Regions from separate parts of the Homo sapiens genome. Here region 2 is linked to region 1. Evidence: promoter capture Hi-C in 16 types of primary human blood cells and fetal thymus (Javierre and others, 2016). All regions are on one chromosome and are shown on one strand. The core of a region is centred on a gene start or on the middle of the fragment in contact, and the rest is flanking DNA. Distances in the headings are between cores, read along the strand shown. Region 1 has its middle 4.0 kb from the start of ARGLU1. Region 2 holds the start of STK24 (serine/threonine kinase 24).

Region 1 (7,541 bases), core at 5,042-7,541:
CCACAGAAAGAATCAGTGAGCTTGAAGAGACATCAACAGAAACTTCCCAAACTGAAATGCAAGGAGAAGAAAAAAAATATTTTAAAAGAAATAGAATATGCTAGAATGGTGAGACATAAAAGGCATAACACACACTAATGAATACCAAAAGGAGAACAAAGAAAGTGAAGGAGCAGAAGAAATATTTAAAGATTATAATGACTGAGAATTTTCTAAAATTATTAACAAAAATCAAACCATAGATTAAAGAAGCTCAGAGAACAACAAGCACAATTAATACCCCCAAATCAACACCTGAGCGTATCATACTCAGACTACAGAAAAACAAAGACCTAGGGAAAAATCTTGAAAAAATCCTGGGGTAGGGGTGGCATGGTGGGGGACACCCACCCAGAAAGGAACAAAGATGGGCATTCCATCAGACTTCTAGTCCATAACCAGGCCAGCAAGAGAGTGGAGTAAAGATTCAAAGATTTGAAGGAATAAAAAACTCATGTAAAATTTTGTATCCTGCAAAATTATCCTTCAAAGGTGATGGAGAAATAAAGACTCAAATCAACAAAACTGAGGGCATTTGTCACCAGTAAATCTGCCTTGCAAGAAATGTTGAAAGAAGTTCTTCAGAGGGAGGGAAAAAGATACAGGTCAGGAAATCTTCTCTACCTAAAGAAAGGATGAGAGTTGGGAAAGGAAAAAAGAAGACTCTTAAGTTGTCCTTAGAAGCCCTTACTGCTGACAGTGTTGAATTTTACCTGTGTTCTTAGAAAACAGAGGATGCTAAGAAATCTCCCATCCTTCGTGCTAGAGGAAATGACTTAACTTCAAGATCCCTCTTCCTTGTATGACTTAAATTAGACTCATGGAAGCCCCCTGTATTAGTCTGTTTTCATACTGCTATAAAGAGCTGCTGAAGGCTGGGTAATTTATTACTTTCAATGGCAAAAACTGCAATTACTTTTGCACCACCCTAATATAAAGGAAAGAGATTTAATTGACTCACAGTTCAGCATGACTGGGGAGGCCTCAGGGAACTTACAATCATGGTGTAAGGCCAAGGGGAAGCAAGGCGTCTTCTTCACAAGGCGGCAGGAAGGAGAAGTGTTGAACGAAGGGAGAAGAGCCCCTTATAAAACCATCAGATCTCATGATAATTCACTCATTATCACGAGACCAGCATGGGAGAAACCACATCCATGATTCAATTTCCTCCACCTGGTCTCTCCCTTGACAAGTGGGGATTATGGGGATTACAATTCAAGGTGAGATTTGGGTGGGGACACAAAGCTTAACCATATCACCCCACCCCTGCCCCTGTTTACTTATGACAGGCCAGACTGGGCCTTCCAAATTCCTATTCTTTGCCTCATAGATTAGCTGAACTATTTTTTCCCCTGAAATTAATGGAAACAAAATTCTTATTTATTGAACTTTGGTTAAGTTTCTGTCCTTTCCCCAGGTCCCAGAACCTTGGCCCACCATCAGCCTGAGCTGGTCTTCACTCACTCCTAAGAACAGGCTGGCCTCCAGAAGAATGTTCCCTGATCCACTACCCACTTTTGGGACCCCTTCATCCACTTCCTCACATCACTTCCTTGTTTATTCCTCCTATAAAACAAAACCACTTTTTGCCTAACTCTTGAGATGCCTGCAGATCTCATGTGTAGAGTGTTCTATTTATTACAATAGTCTCCCCACACCCCACCACCATCCAACCCCTTCCAATGATACTTTTGAACAAAATCTCGCCTAAGTCATGGTTTATTTGACACTGTAAATTTGGCCTCCCACTTTGGCCTGGCTCCATGTCAAAGCCTGCCAAGCTCACACTCCCATCTCAGGAATCAGCTCCAGTCACCGTCCAGTCCGAGCAAGTTGCTGGGAAGTATGTCCTTAGCCTTCTATGCTCACAGCACCAACAGCTTTTGCTGCCTTGCTTTTCATGCACTTGAACAGAAATGACAGAGATCTCCAGGTTTGTTGCTGCTGGAACTATCAATATGTGCTTTCCCTAGTCAGGAGGTATTTTTTTCCTGCCTCTTGAGTAAAGAATTCCCTTTTTAACAAGCTTTTTTTCCCTTGTTTGTTTGTTTGTTTTTGCATACAGTCACACTCACAATTAGTCTTGCATAGCATAGGGCCTCCTGACAATGGTTTTAGATGAATTGATGATCATTTGGCTTAGGAAAAAGAAATGTACGATGTGTGCAGAACTACACATTCTGAATTGGATCATAAGATAGTTTTTAGAAGCTAGAGTTCTCCAGATTTCCAGATTTTATTGCCAGAGCAGTGATGAAAGCAGTTTACTCATCTTCAAATTATGTAATATTCAGTAATTGTGAATTCTCTTTAAAACTCTTCAAAGAACCCATGCTGCCAAGAAAAGCCAGACAACACGTTCCATATTGATTTGCTCATTCTGAATGTTTTGTTGACCGCGTCCCATCATGTGCTCCTAGGTCCTAGGCCTGAGATGGATGACCCGAATCTTAGACACGGACGCCAACTCCCCCAACCCCCTGCCCCGCCAACCCCCAAACCAAAGGAGCTCACTTTTTAGCTAGAGAGATGAATATTAAATAATTAATGAACATGTTTATTTTTATTTTTTTAGGTTTATTTTCATTGTGTTGACGTTTACCTTTAAATTATTGAACACATTTATATGTCATTTTTAGAACTTATGAATAAAGTGCTGCCAAGGAGACAACCTACCAAGGGACTGGGAGTCAGTGGGATAGGGAGAAATGGGCATAAACTGGGTGTCAGACAGCTCAGGAAAAGTTAGGTAGGTGAGATTCTAAGAAACAACACTATAGAGAGAGTGGGACCATGGTGCCCAAGGACTCCACCTGCACTGTAAGTGTAGACATAACTCTCTGAGCAACTAAGATGGTATTTTCCATTAACAAGGCAATCAATACTTACGACGCTTCATGGGCATGTTGTAAAATACATCTCAAACTTTGAAAAGTTGGCAAAAACAATTGAGGATCAATTTAATTTAAGAATTAGGATCAGTAATTTAAGAATTAGGAGTATATTAGTCTGTTTTCACACTACTATAAAGAACTGCCCGAGACTGGGTAATTTATAAAGGAAAGAGGTTTAATTGACTCACATTTCAGCATGGCTGAGGAGGCCTCAGGAGACTTACAATCATGGCCCAAGGTGAAGGGAAAGCAAGGCACCTTCTTTACAAGGTGGCAGGAAGAAGAAATGAACCCAGGAGGAACTACCACTTATAAAACCATCAGATCTCATGAGAACTCACTCACCATCATGACAACAGCATGCGGAAACCACCCCCATGATTCAATTACCTCCACCTGGTCTCTCCCTTGACACATGGGGTTTATGGGGATTACAATTCAAAATGAGATTTTGGTTGGGAAAACAGCCAAACCATATTAAGGAGGAAAGATACATTCATGCATCTCCTATTTTTTACATTAAATTGTTCTTTGGAATGATCTGGATTTGAATGATGTGTTATTTATATTTGGCTATCCTAATTATTCAAACATGAACTGAGAAAATGCTTTTATTGGAGAAGGGAATGGAGGAAGGGAGGCAACTAAAAATTTTAAGAGTCTGAAAACAAAACAAAACAAAACAAAACAAATGAAGCCAAACTTATACTTAGGATAAAAAACCATGCAATTCTCTTCTTTCAAGGTGTATTCGGCATATATTTATCGAGGTTAGCTAACCCATAGGGTGTCAGTGGACACAAAACAGTCAAGATGCCGAGAATTTGGATTCTGGTGGCAAAAAATAGTCAATAAAGAAATACATGAGAAAATAAGGTGAGTTCAGGGAGTGTGAAATGTCAAGATTTTGATAATTATACTATAAAATGCAGGCATAAAATGTGTGTGTTCCTCATTCCTTCAATGCATCCTCAGAGATGATCCCTGGTAAATTAAGGGCTTTCATGCACTTTTTCCTTTTTTTTTTTTTTTTTTTTTTTCCTGGCAGCAGCCAAAAGACATGGCCAGAGCCTGAGCAGGGTAAATATCATCTTTTTTTTTTTAGACAGAGTCTTGCTCTGTCACTTAGGCTAGAGTGCAGTAGCCCGATCTTAGCTCACTGCAACCTCTGCCTCCTGGGTTCAAGCAATTCTCTGCCTCAGCCTCCTGAGTAGCTGGGATTACAGGCACCCGCCACCACGCCTGGCTAACTTTTGTATTTTTAGTAGAGACGGGGTTTCACCATCTTGACCAGGCTGGTCTTGAACTCTTGACTTTGTGATCCACCCGCCTCAGCCTCCCAAAGTGCTGGGATTACAGGCATGAGCCACCACGCCCGCCCCAATATCATCCTCTTTTAAAAGCTCCATAATCCCCTATACCTCTACATCCAATCTCCAGTGGTCTTATAAGAAGAGGACAGACGTACAGTAAAGATGGAGACAGGGACTAAAAGCCAAGGAATGCCAGCAAGCACCAGGAGCTAAGTGAGAGGCAGTGAACAGATTCTTCTCCAGAGCCTCCAAAGGAACCAACTTTGCTGACATTTGATTTTGGACTGCTGGACTCCAGAACTGTAAGTGAATACATTTCTGTTCATTTAAGACATCAGTCTGTGGTAATTTGTCGGGGCAGCTCTAGAAAATTTATACACTAACTCATTGGAAATAACTATCTTTATCATTAAACAGACATCATTCTGGATTATATATATATGTAATATACATATATATAAACAAAATTCCAGATATATCTATACATCATATCATATATTCACACCATATATGGATATATAAACCATATATATCATTCCCACTGGATAGATAGGTACAGATACGTACAGACAGATGGTTAGATTGACAGAAATATTTCTACTATAATGGGGGTAATTCTATACATTCTATATTAAATGTGATTTTACTTGAACGTATCTGAAGTAAAAGAATAGATCTATCCTTCTATTGCACTGTTTTCCTATTTCTGTCCTAAAATCTTGTTGTTCAGTTTATTCAATTTTGTGTAGGGCAAACAGGTACTGTTTGCTACGGTCTAAATGTTTGTGTGCCCTCCCAAACCCAGATGTTGAAATCTAATCACCAATGTAATGGTATTAGGAGGTGGGGCTGCTGGAAGATGACGGTATTAGGAGGTGGAGCCGCTGGAACACGATGGTATTAGGAGGTGGGGCTGATAGGAGACAAAGGTATTAGGAGGTGGGGCTGCTGGAACATTATGGTATGAGGAGGTGGGGCTGCTGGGAGATGACGGTATGAGGAGGTGGGGCTGCTGGGAGATGACGGTATGAGGAGGTGGGGCTGCTGGGACATGATGGTATGAGGAAGTGGAGCTGCTGGGACAGGATGGTATTAGGAGGCGGGGCTGCCGGGAGACGATGGTATTAGGAGGCGGGGCTGCCGGGAGACGATGGTATTAGGAGGCGGGGCAGCTGGGAGACGATGGTATTAGGAGGTGAGGCTGCTGGCTCTGCCCTCATGAATTGGATTAGTTCCTATCTTAGTCCATTCAGCCTACTATAAGACTACCTCAGACTGGGTCATTTATAAACAGCAGAAATTTATCGCTCAGAGTTCTGGAAGCTGGGAGTCCAAGATTAAGGCACTGGCAGATTCAGTGTCTGGTGAGGCCTCACTCTCTGCTTCATAGATGACACCTTTTTCTATGTCTTCACATGGTAAAGAACGGGTGAACAAGCTTCCTTGGGCCCCTTTTATAAGGGCATTGCTATGGCTTAAATGTATGTGTCTCTCTAGAATTCCTATGTTGGAGCCTAAAATCCACTATAATAACATTAAGAGCTGAAGCCGTTTTGGAAGTGATTAAGAAATGAGGCTCCACCCTCTTGAATGGGAATAGTATCCTTACAAAAGAGGTTGACAGGAGTGTCCTAGTTCCCCCCCCTTTTTTTTTGCCCTTTTGCCTCCCATCCCTTCCCTCATGTGAGGACACAGTGTTCGTCCCCTTCTGTGGACCCAGCAAAACAAGGCACTATCTTGGAAGCAGATAGCAAGCTCTTATCAGACACTGACTCTGCTGGTACCTTTATCTTGGACTTCTTAGCCTTCAGAACTCTGAGAAATAATGTCTATTATTTATAAATCACTCAGTCTAAAGTATTCTGTTATAGCAGTGGAAATGGGCTGAGATAGGCACTAATTCCAGTTATGAGGTTAGAGCCCTCATGACCTAATCAATATCCCAAAGCCCCACCTTTTAATACTATTGCACTGGTGATTAGGTTTCAACATATGAATCTGAGGGAACACAAACTTTCAGACCCTAGAAGTGCCACTAAAAGAGAGCTCAGAGAGCTAGCTTTCCCCTTCTATCATGTGAGGGCACTGTGAGTAGGTGCCTTCTGTGAGTCATCTGTGAATCTCTGGGTCCTCACCAGCGACCAGATTGGCTAGCACCTGGATCCTGGATTTCCAACTTTCAGAACTGTGAGAAATAAATTTGTTGTTCATAAGCTGCCTAGTTTATGATATTTTGTTACAGCAGTCAACACAGACTAATACACTACTCTTCTTTGTTTCCAAGTTTTCTTGATAATTAATTATGTGATCTTCCATATAAAACTTAAAATTAATTAGTTCTAAAACACATATCCCCAAGAGAATTTGGGACTCTCATGAGAATTGCACTAATTTTGTAATTTGACTTGGGAAGAATTGACAGTATTTTTGATACTGACTACTCACCTAAGAATACAGCATGTTTTACATTTACTAGGGCCTTATTACTGCCTTTTCAGTAAAGGTTTATAATAAAGATTGTGTAACTTGTTAAAGTTTATCCCTAAGTATTTTATGGTTTCTGTTGCCATTGTGGAGGAAATATTATTTCATTTTTAATATGTTTTTGCTTATTCAAATAATTCTAATTTTTCTTCTACTTACTTAAGCTTTATTATTGCACTCAATTTTAAAATTGAGGCACCTAGATTTTCAAGGGTTCCTGTCATCTGCAAATATTAACATTGCCTTTTCCTTTTAGGTCTTAACAATGACACAGTTTGTTGTGCCACATAGGGACGAAGCTTTTCGTGGCTAGGGTTGAGGAGGGCTTGCTGGTTATGTGCAAGGGCTTTGCACAATATGATCTAGGTTCACGTCCCTGCTCTGTCACCTACTGGTTGTGTGACCCTTATTTAACCTCTGTGGACCTCAGGGTCCTCATCTCTGAAACGTGGATAATAGTAGTACTTAATTCAGAATTGTAAGAATTAAGCACTTGTTAATACATTAAAGCATTTAGAAGGCACATTAAGCCCTATAGTAAGCATTAGGTTACATTCATCAAAACCTGCTGCCTACTTACCTCCTGCAAGTCTCATAAGCACTTCAGAAAGTGTGGTGTCTCCATTCTACGAATGAGGAAACTAAGTCCAAGGCAGCAAGTGATGAGTGCAGGGTCACTTGGAGATACATTTTAGGGCTGCCCCACAAGACCAGCTCCTAGAAAATAATGCAATCAATCAACTTCTGCGAGGCCGGACTTAAATCCCACTAAAACGTGCTTAATTCATTCAACAGGCGTTGGCATCTTACC
Region 2 (6,704 bases), core at 2,100-4,599, 8.0 Mb after region 1:
TCTGAATTTAAATTGCTAATGCTCTACTTGTCTAGCTGTTCTTTATAAAGCAGCATTTGGGGGTGTTTATCTTTTCAACTTAGAAAGAAAAGTGAAGGGATTGATTGTGGAATTCTTGTTTTCTGTTCCTCTCTGAGCTCTGCTGAGAGTGCGTACAAACTAGCTTAGGGGCAGCAAATACATAGGGGCTTTATATTTGGAGGGGCTCCATATAGGGGTATGGAAATATTCTTTGTGGTCCAGAATATATTTCAGATCATAATTCATTGCCAGACTGATGTCCTTAAGTGAACACAAAAGACAAAGAGGACCAGGGAAGAAAAATAATTCAATGGATAAAGTAAATAACTCAATGGGTTAGTATCTCCATGGAGACCATAAAATGCATCATCTCTATGGAGACTCTCATAATCTCCTTCTGGACTTACGGTAGTGTATAACCTGTTGTAATCATACATTGGGGGTGGAGGGAAAGTGACAAGAGGAAGAGGGTGAGAGGATGATCCTTTTCTTTCCTTGGTGGAAATGATAGCTATTGCCACTCTAAGTTTAATCAATTATGGTATTGTATTCATCCAAAGTTAGGATTCTGGGAGACCAGGTCCCTAGGATGGGTTAAGAGGCACCTGAGGATCTAATGTTTATATGCCCAGTACTGAACTGGGTATCTGACATGTATTAATAGTTGGTATTCAAAAAAGGTGTGAATGAATGAACATAATAGGCAATTGCACCGGATCTGATCCCGGGCTCAGGCCCTGTGCATCATCTCTGTTGTGCAAAAACAAATAAGGTGGAGACCTACTTCTGCCATGGGGAATACTCGGTACTACCTGCATAGGGCCAAGGAGAACCAGTAACTCCCATGTTGCTTCCTTCCCTTCTTTCGATAAGAATGGTGCTCAACAGTATGAACATTGTCAAAGGATGAAACAATGGTCAGTGTGGAGAGAAGATAAACAGGGTTCGGGGCAACAGACCAGCTAATGGATGCAAGTCACTGTGTCCAGAGAAGTTACATCCTGCCGGAATCTCCCTGTTTTGAGCCTCACTAGCCTCAGGACACAAACTAGGATTCCGGTTATTTTTTTATACCCAGGGTACTATGGGCCTTTGTCCCCCATCTGCTGTGACTTATTTGCTGGCAATTAGCCCACTGCAAAGTGATTTCTGAGCATTTACCATGGTAATGTCTCAGATCAGCATCCAGACATTTCCATCCATTCATCTAGTTTCTTGCTCTTTATCTTGGTGCCAGGTTATTGCCCTGGCTCTGCTGACCCTAGAAGAATATTTTTACTGTCCCTTTTCTATGCTTAGACATGTTTAGATCCACAAATATTTACCATTGTGTTATAGTTGCCTCCAGTATTGAGTTCAGTCACATGCTGTTCAGGTTTGTGGTCCAGGTGCAATACGTCATACCATATAGCCTAGGTGTGTAGTAGGCTATGCCATCTAGGTTTCTGGAAGTACACTCTATGATGCTCACGTGACAAAATCAACTAAGAACACATTTCTCAGAATGTATACCCATTGTTAAGCAATACATGACTGTGTGTCTGTAGGCCATATATATTAATATATATATAGTCATTTGAGATCAGTCTATATACAGTGTTTTGTACCCTGTATTTTCTTTAATAATATATAATGAATACATTTTCCCCATTACTAGGTACTGAAAGACATAATTTTAAATGACTACATAGTACTCGTATGAAAATGCTATTATTTACTTAACCTCTGTGAGACTTTTTGGCTGTTCCGTTTCCCCAGGATTCTAAACATCACTGTGTCTTCTTACATGCATTCTTCCACACTTCTTGGTTGTTGCCTTAGGATATGTTACTTTAGGTAGAATTCCTGGGCTGCGCTGAAGAATAGAAACATTTTAAAGATTCACATTCTTGCTTGTTTTGCTGTTCGCCTCTTTAGGTACCATATTTTTTAGGTGTACAAAATTTATACACCTGATTTTAAGTTCCTGGGTATCAGGGTTCATACTTCTCTTAATTTTGTATTTCCTTGCAGTCCTACTTACGGGTGGCAGGGCTCCTCAAGGGATGGGTGTACCAATGACAACCATGAAAGTATTCTAAGGTATTCCCTAGGACTCCGAGAAAAAACATGCATCTTTCCAAAGGGAAAGAAGGGATTAGATGTTAGCATCCTACTCCATGTCAGATCCAGAGCACCCGGGGGAACTGAAGTTCGTGGATGGAATACAATGACACCTCAGAAAAGAAATACTCCTTTGGTGGAGGCCTTTAAACTTTTGGGGGCTCATTTTGTCTGCCTAACTCGCCCAGCCAGGGCGCAAAATGGCCACTTAGGAGCATGAGTGAGGTGCCAGCGTCCCTACAATCTAAGGAGCAGGGAGTCATCACTGGGGTGGCTGCCGCTCTACCTGTTTGCGACTGTAATAAAACACCTTCTGGAGGCCGAGGGACCCGCTTCATCCTGACTTTTCCCCTCAGTAGCTAGAGAGAAGGCGGCTGAAAAGAGGAGACAGAACTGGTGCTGAGTGGGCCTGGAGCTTCCGAGGCAAGGGAAAGAGGGAGAGGGCTGCAGTTCAAAGTCCAGACGCGCTTTCCTTCCATTCTCTTCCCTTCCTCCCTGCCCTCTGCGCCCCATTTTCCCCTTATCGTGGGTGGGGGCTTCTGATTTGCTGCGGATCCCAGAGATGGTGGGGTTCAGCCTCCGCACTGCTTAGCTAAGTTCCCAGCCCAGCAGTCCCAGCCGGGCTGTTTTCGGTAACCAAAGCACTAGGAATTAACCTCTCTCTCGGCCTCTTCCCTTTCGGTTTCCTTCTTGGGTTGGCTGGAAACTTCACCCAGACACCGAAGCAGCTCTGCCCGGCCTTTTGGCACAGGCCACCGGCCGAGGCCCCACGGGGCGCTCTCCTTCCCCAGGTGCCCCCGACTCCGATCCTGCCCTCAGGGGCTCGCCCGGGACGCGTTTTCCCAGAGGCCGCCGGGGCGGGGTGGGCTGGCTGGCGGGAAGAGGGGGCCGCGGCCCAGGCTCGCCCCGGCGCCGGCCCGGTGGGCACGCGGCCAGCCTCCGGCCCCGACTCGGTCCCTCCCGGCGCCCGCCCCAGCCGAGGCCCCCTCCCGGCCCCGCCGCCCGCCCGCGGGGGCGTGGGAGCGCCGCAGGAGCAGCTGGGACCCGGGCCGGGCCGACAGGCGGCGGCTGCGGCCTAGGGCTCCCGCGCGGCCACCGGCCTCTCCCCTCCCCCTCCCGGAAGCGCGGGGCGGGGTCCCCGGCCGGGCCGTGGGGGCGGGCGCGGGGGCCGGGCCGGGGCGGGACGCGCTCGGCGCTCGCGGGCTCGGCGGGCTGTGCGCGCCCACTCCGGCTCCAGCGGCCAGCGCGCGCGGGCCCAGGCCGCCCGGCTCCAGCCCAGCAGTAGCGGCAGCAGCGGCGGCGGCGGCAGTGCGCGCGAGGCCCTGCGCCCCCAGCAGCTCCTCCCTGGCGCCGTGCATGGAGACGCGGCCCGCCACCCGCCGCTGAGCCCCCGCCGCCCGGCCGGGACCCGCCAGGGCTGGGGTGGCCTCGGGCTCCGGCCGGCCCCGCCGCCCGAGGGCTGCGCGCGGCCCGCGGGCCTCGCCGCCCCGCGCGGATCGTCGCGGCCCGGCCGTCCCGTCCCAGGAAGTGGCCGTCCTGAGCGCCATGGCTCACTCCCCGGTGCAGTCGGGCCTGCCCGGCATGCAGGTAGGCGGGCGCGGGCCGCGGGGCCGGGATGCGCGACCGGGGCGGAAGCAGCAACTTGGCGGTATCCACACGGCGTCCCCCTACGCTCAGCCGGCCGGGGTCGCGCCGGAGCCTGGCTCCCCGCGCGCCCGGCTCGGCCGGGGGTCCGAGTCCGAGTCCCTGGGCGTCCCTGCCGGCTCCGGCGGCCGAGGTCTCCGGCGTGTGCGTGCAGGAGCCGTAGGAACCGCGGCCTGGGTCCGGATGTGGGGGTGCGGGCGCCTAGTCCTCCGCGCTCCCCTCGCCCCAACACTCTTCCGGAGCTGCAGGCCCTGGGTGGCCCTGTCCCCGGGAGAAGTGAGGTGGAGTGATGCCCTTGGAGGCCCCCGCCGGGTCCCGGGGCCCTGCGTGGTGGCCGGGTTGGCGGAGGGCCCCAGGACGCGTCCCCCAGGCTCGTCCCCCACCCCCGGGCAGGCGGGCGGGAGACCTGGGCAGGGCGGGGACGGGGAGCGCGCCTGGACTCGTCCGGGCCCGAGCGGAGTAGGCAGGGTGGAGTGGAGGAAGGTAACCGCGAGTTCCACTTGCAGTGGCTTTGCCCGGAGCCCCCGTGCACCTGCGGACCGGGGGAAAGTGCGAGTTGCAAACCTTCTGGAAGGAGGAATCCCTCGGACAGCCGCGCACCAGGGTCCCGGGCCCGGCCCCGGGACCCTGGACTTTCACTTTGAGACTTGGTTGCATTTACAGGAATTCTTCGCCCAGTAAACCTCTCTTTCGGTACTTGGTGACACCTTGGCCTACCAGTGACTTTTTGGGGAGTGGGAGAGGAGTTGAATTTCAAATTTACATGTATAAGTTAAAGGTTTTTTGTTGTTGTTGTTTTCGTTGTCGTTGCTTTTAGCCCTTTGAAAAACAAAGCTACCGTCCTTGGCTAACTCTTGTAAACTTTGTAGGCGCAGAAATGGTGGCAAAATGCTTAGGATGGAAATCTTAGGATGCAGTTAGGATATGTCATGAAAGTTTGCTCTGCCAGTTTAGCTGAGTGAACGTTAAGTGTTTGAAGAAAACCAAAAGCATCCAAGTAGATTACTGGTTGATTTACAGGTACCAACAGGCTCCTTCCCTGTGTCTTGAGGGCTGAGAAGCACAGAGCCCAGACCTGGGACTGCCTCTGGGGTCTGCTCGCCTCTTCCAGTGAGATCATCCCTCTCCCTTCTTTTTTTGAAACCGTAAAAAGAAAACTGGATTTCACTGTTCAGGTTTGAATTCTGGAAAAATAGGAACTCAAAGTTACCACTTTAATGGCAGCTAGAATTTTAGTCCAAGTGTGTGTGTGTGTATATGTGTGTGTGTGTGTGTGTGTGTATATATAAGCAGTATATATATGTGTGTATATATGTTTAAGCAGTAAATAAATATACATTTAAGCAGCAACAGTTAAGTTATTATCTTAAGAGTGACTGGGAAGATGCTTGAAGAATATTCTTTTGTCGACTCTCATTTAAGGAGCGTTGAATTTAGCATGCATTCAAAACCTAAACTTCTGCTGACTGCTGGGTAACAATCAGATGTGGTTTCTTGGTATTTTCTAAAGCCGCTTTGGTATGAATTTAGAGGTGTGTAGGTCAGAGTGAACTGGGTGAAAAAAGTAATTTCTTACTAGTCGAGCAAGAAAGGACTCTTGTAATGATTTAAAAAAAAAGTTTTATCAATATTTCCTTTAGGTTGATATTTATACCGTGTTCATCAGGTTGGAATCTAGCACAAATGCCTCACTTACTAGGTTAATTGGCCTTTGTGGATAGCGAATCAGTTTGAAAAGGTACTAAAGCCCCTTTGGCTGGTGCCGTGAAGTCAGTATCAGATGGTTACCAGGTGATATCTAGTATCTCACCTTTTCATTTTTATCCTCACTTTTTTTTTTGAGTGGGTCAGAATTCTTAAACCTTGGGAAAAGAAGATACATTTCCTTAATAACTTTGCCTCTCAACTATTATGTATCTGTTAGGTTGTGTTACATGGGAACTGTTTTTATTTTGTTTTCTCAGTATGAAAGATCTTAAGTGTTTCTCAGTGGAAAAGATGATCAGATTTTCAGCTGTTACAGTTTTACAGTTTTAGAGGTAGGTAAGTTGGCTTCTGCCAGTCATTCCTGTACCTAAGTACATCTACAGACTGTATGGTAACAGTGTATCATTTGGGGAAGAACATTCTTTTCTCCTCCCCCACCCCACAAAAGAAAAACAACAGCACATTTATTTTCTACTTCAAATTAGCAGTTGCTACTGCCCTGGGAGGCTTCCCTAAGAGTTGTTGCTGAAGATTCAATTAAAAACACACCTGCTTTCGACTGTTGTCTGCTAAATGGGAGGAGAGAAGTCCGTATCTCTTCTATGGCTTGCTCTGATAGGCCTCATAGCCCTCCCTTTTTCTTGTCTCCTGACCAGGGCTTATAAGGAGTTGGCTTAGAAAGACAGCAGAGTCTGTAATCTCAGCAGTTTGAGAGGCCGAAGTGGGCGGATCATGAGGTCAGGAGATCGAGACCATCCTGGCTAACATGGTGAAACCCTGTTTCTACTAAAAATCCAAAAAATTAGCTGGGCGTGGTGGCACACGCCTGTAATCCCAGCTACTCGGGAGGCTGAGGCAGGAGAATCACTTGAACCCGGGAGGCGGAGGTTGCGTTGAGCTGAGATTGTGCCGTTGCACCCCAGCCTGGGCGACAGAGGCAGACTCCGTCTCAAAAAAAAAAATAAAATAAAAAAATAAAGCAGAGTGAATTCAGGTGGCCTAGGCAAGGATGCTTGAAAAATAACAACCATGTTAGTATAAACACCATTTTTCAATGTTTTGCAAATCATTTTTATGCCTCTTGATTCTTACCGGTACCGTTTGAGATGTAGATGATATTATACCATTTTGTAGATGTGGAGACCAAGGAAGACTTAACTGACCAAGGTGAGATCATATATTATGTGGCAAATTTGTGATTGGAAACTACTACTCCTCCTACTCCCACT

What was found. The method cuts DNA at HindIII sites, captures the fragments that hold promoters and counts their contacts. A CHiCAGO score of 5 or more calls a contact.
Region 2: a contact is called between the fragment with the promoter of STK24 here and a fragment that was not itself captured in region 1, in 1 of 17 cell types (activated CD4 T cells). The highest score is 6.6, in activated CD4 T cells.

What each region holds. Positions count from the first base shown.
Region 1 is chr13:106,568,342-106,575,882 of GRCh38, reverse strand. No RefSeq gene overlaps it. Among named protein-coding and RNA genes, the nearest start is that of ARGLU1, 4.0 kb to the right of the region's middle. RefSeq lists an enhancer at 7,480-7,541. The HindIII fragment of the contact is 1,210 bases long and covers 5,687-6,896 here.
Region 2 is chr13:98,573,752-98,580,455 of GRCh38, reverse strand. STK24 (serine/threonine kinase 24) reads left to right here and starts at 3,349. Exons shown (of 11, transcript NM_001032296.4): 1 at 3,349-3,711. The coding sequence starts at 3,670. STK24-AS1 (STK24 antisense RNA 1) reads right to left here and starts at 3,201. Exons shown (of 1, transcript NR_046542.1): 1 at 1,615-3,201. RefSeq lists an enhancer at 2,636-2,825 and silencers at 2,916-3,065, 3,086-3,395, 3,446-4,315, 5,780-5,839. The HindIII fragment of the contact is 9,197 bases long and covers 1-6,704 here.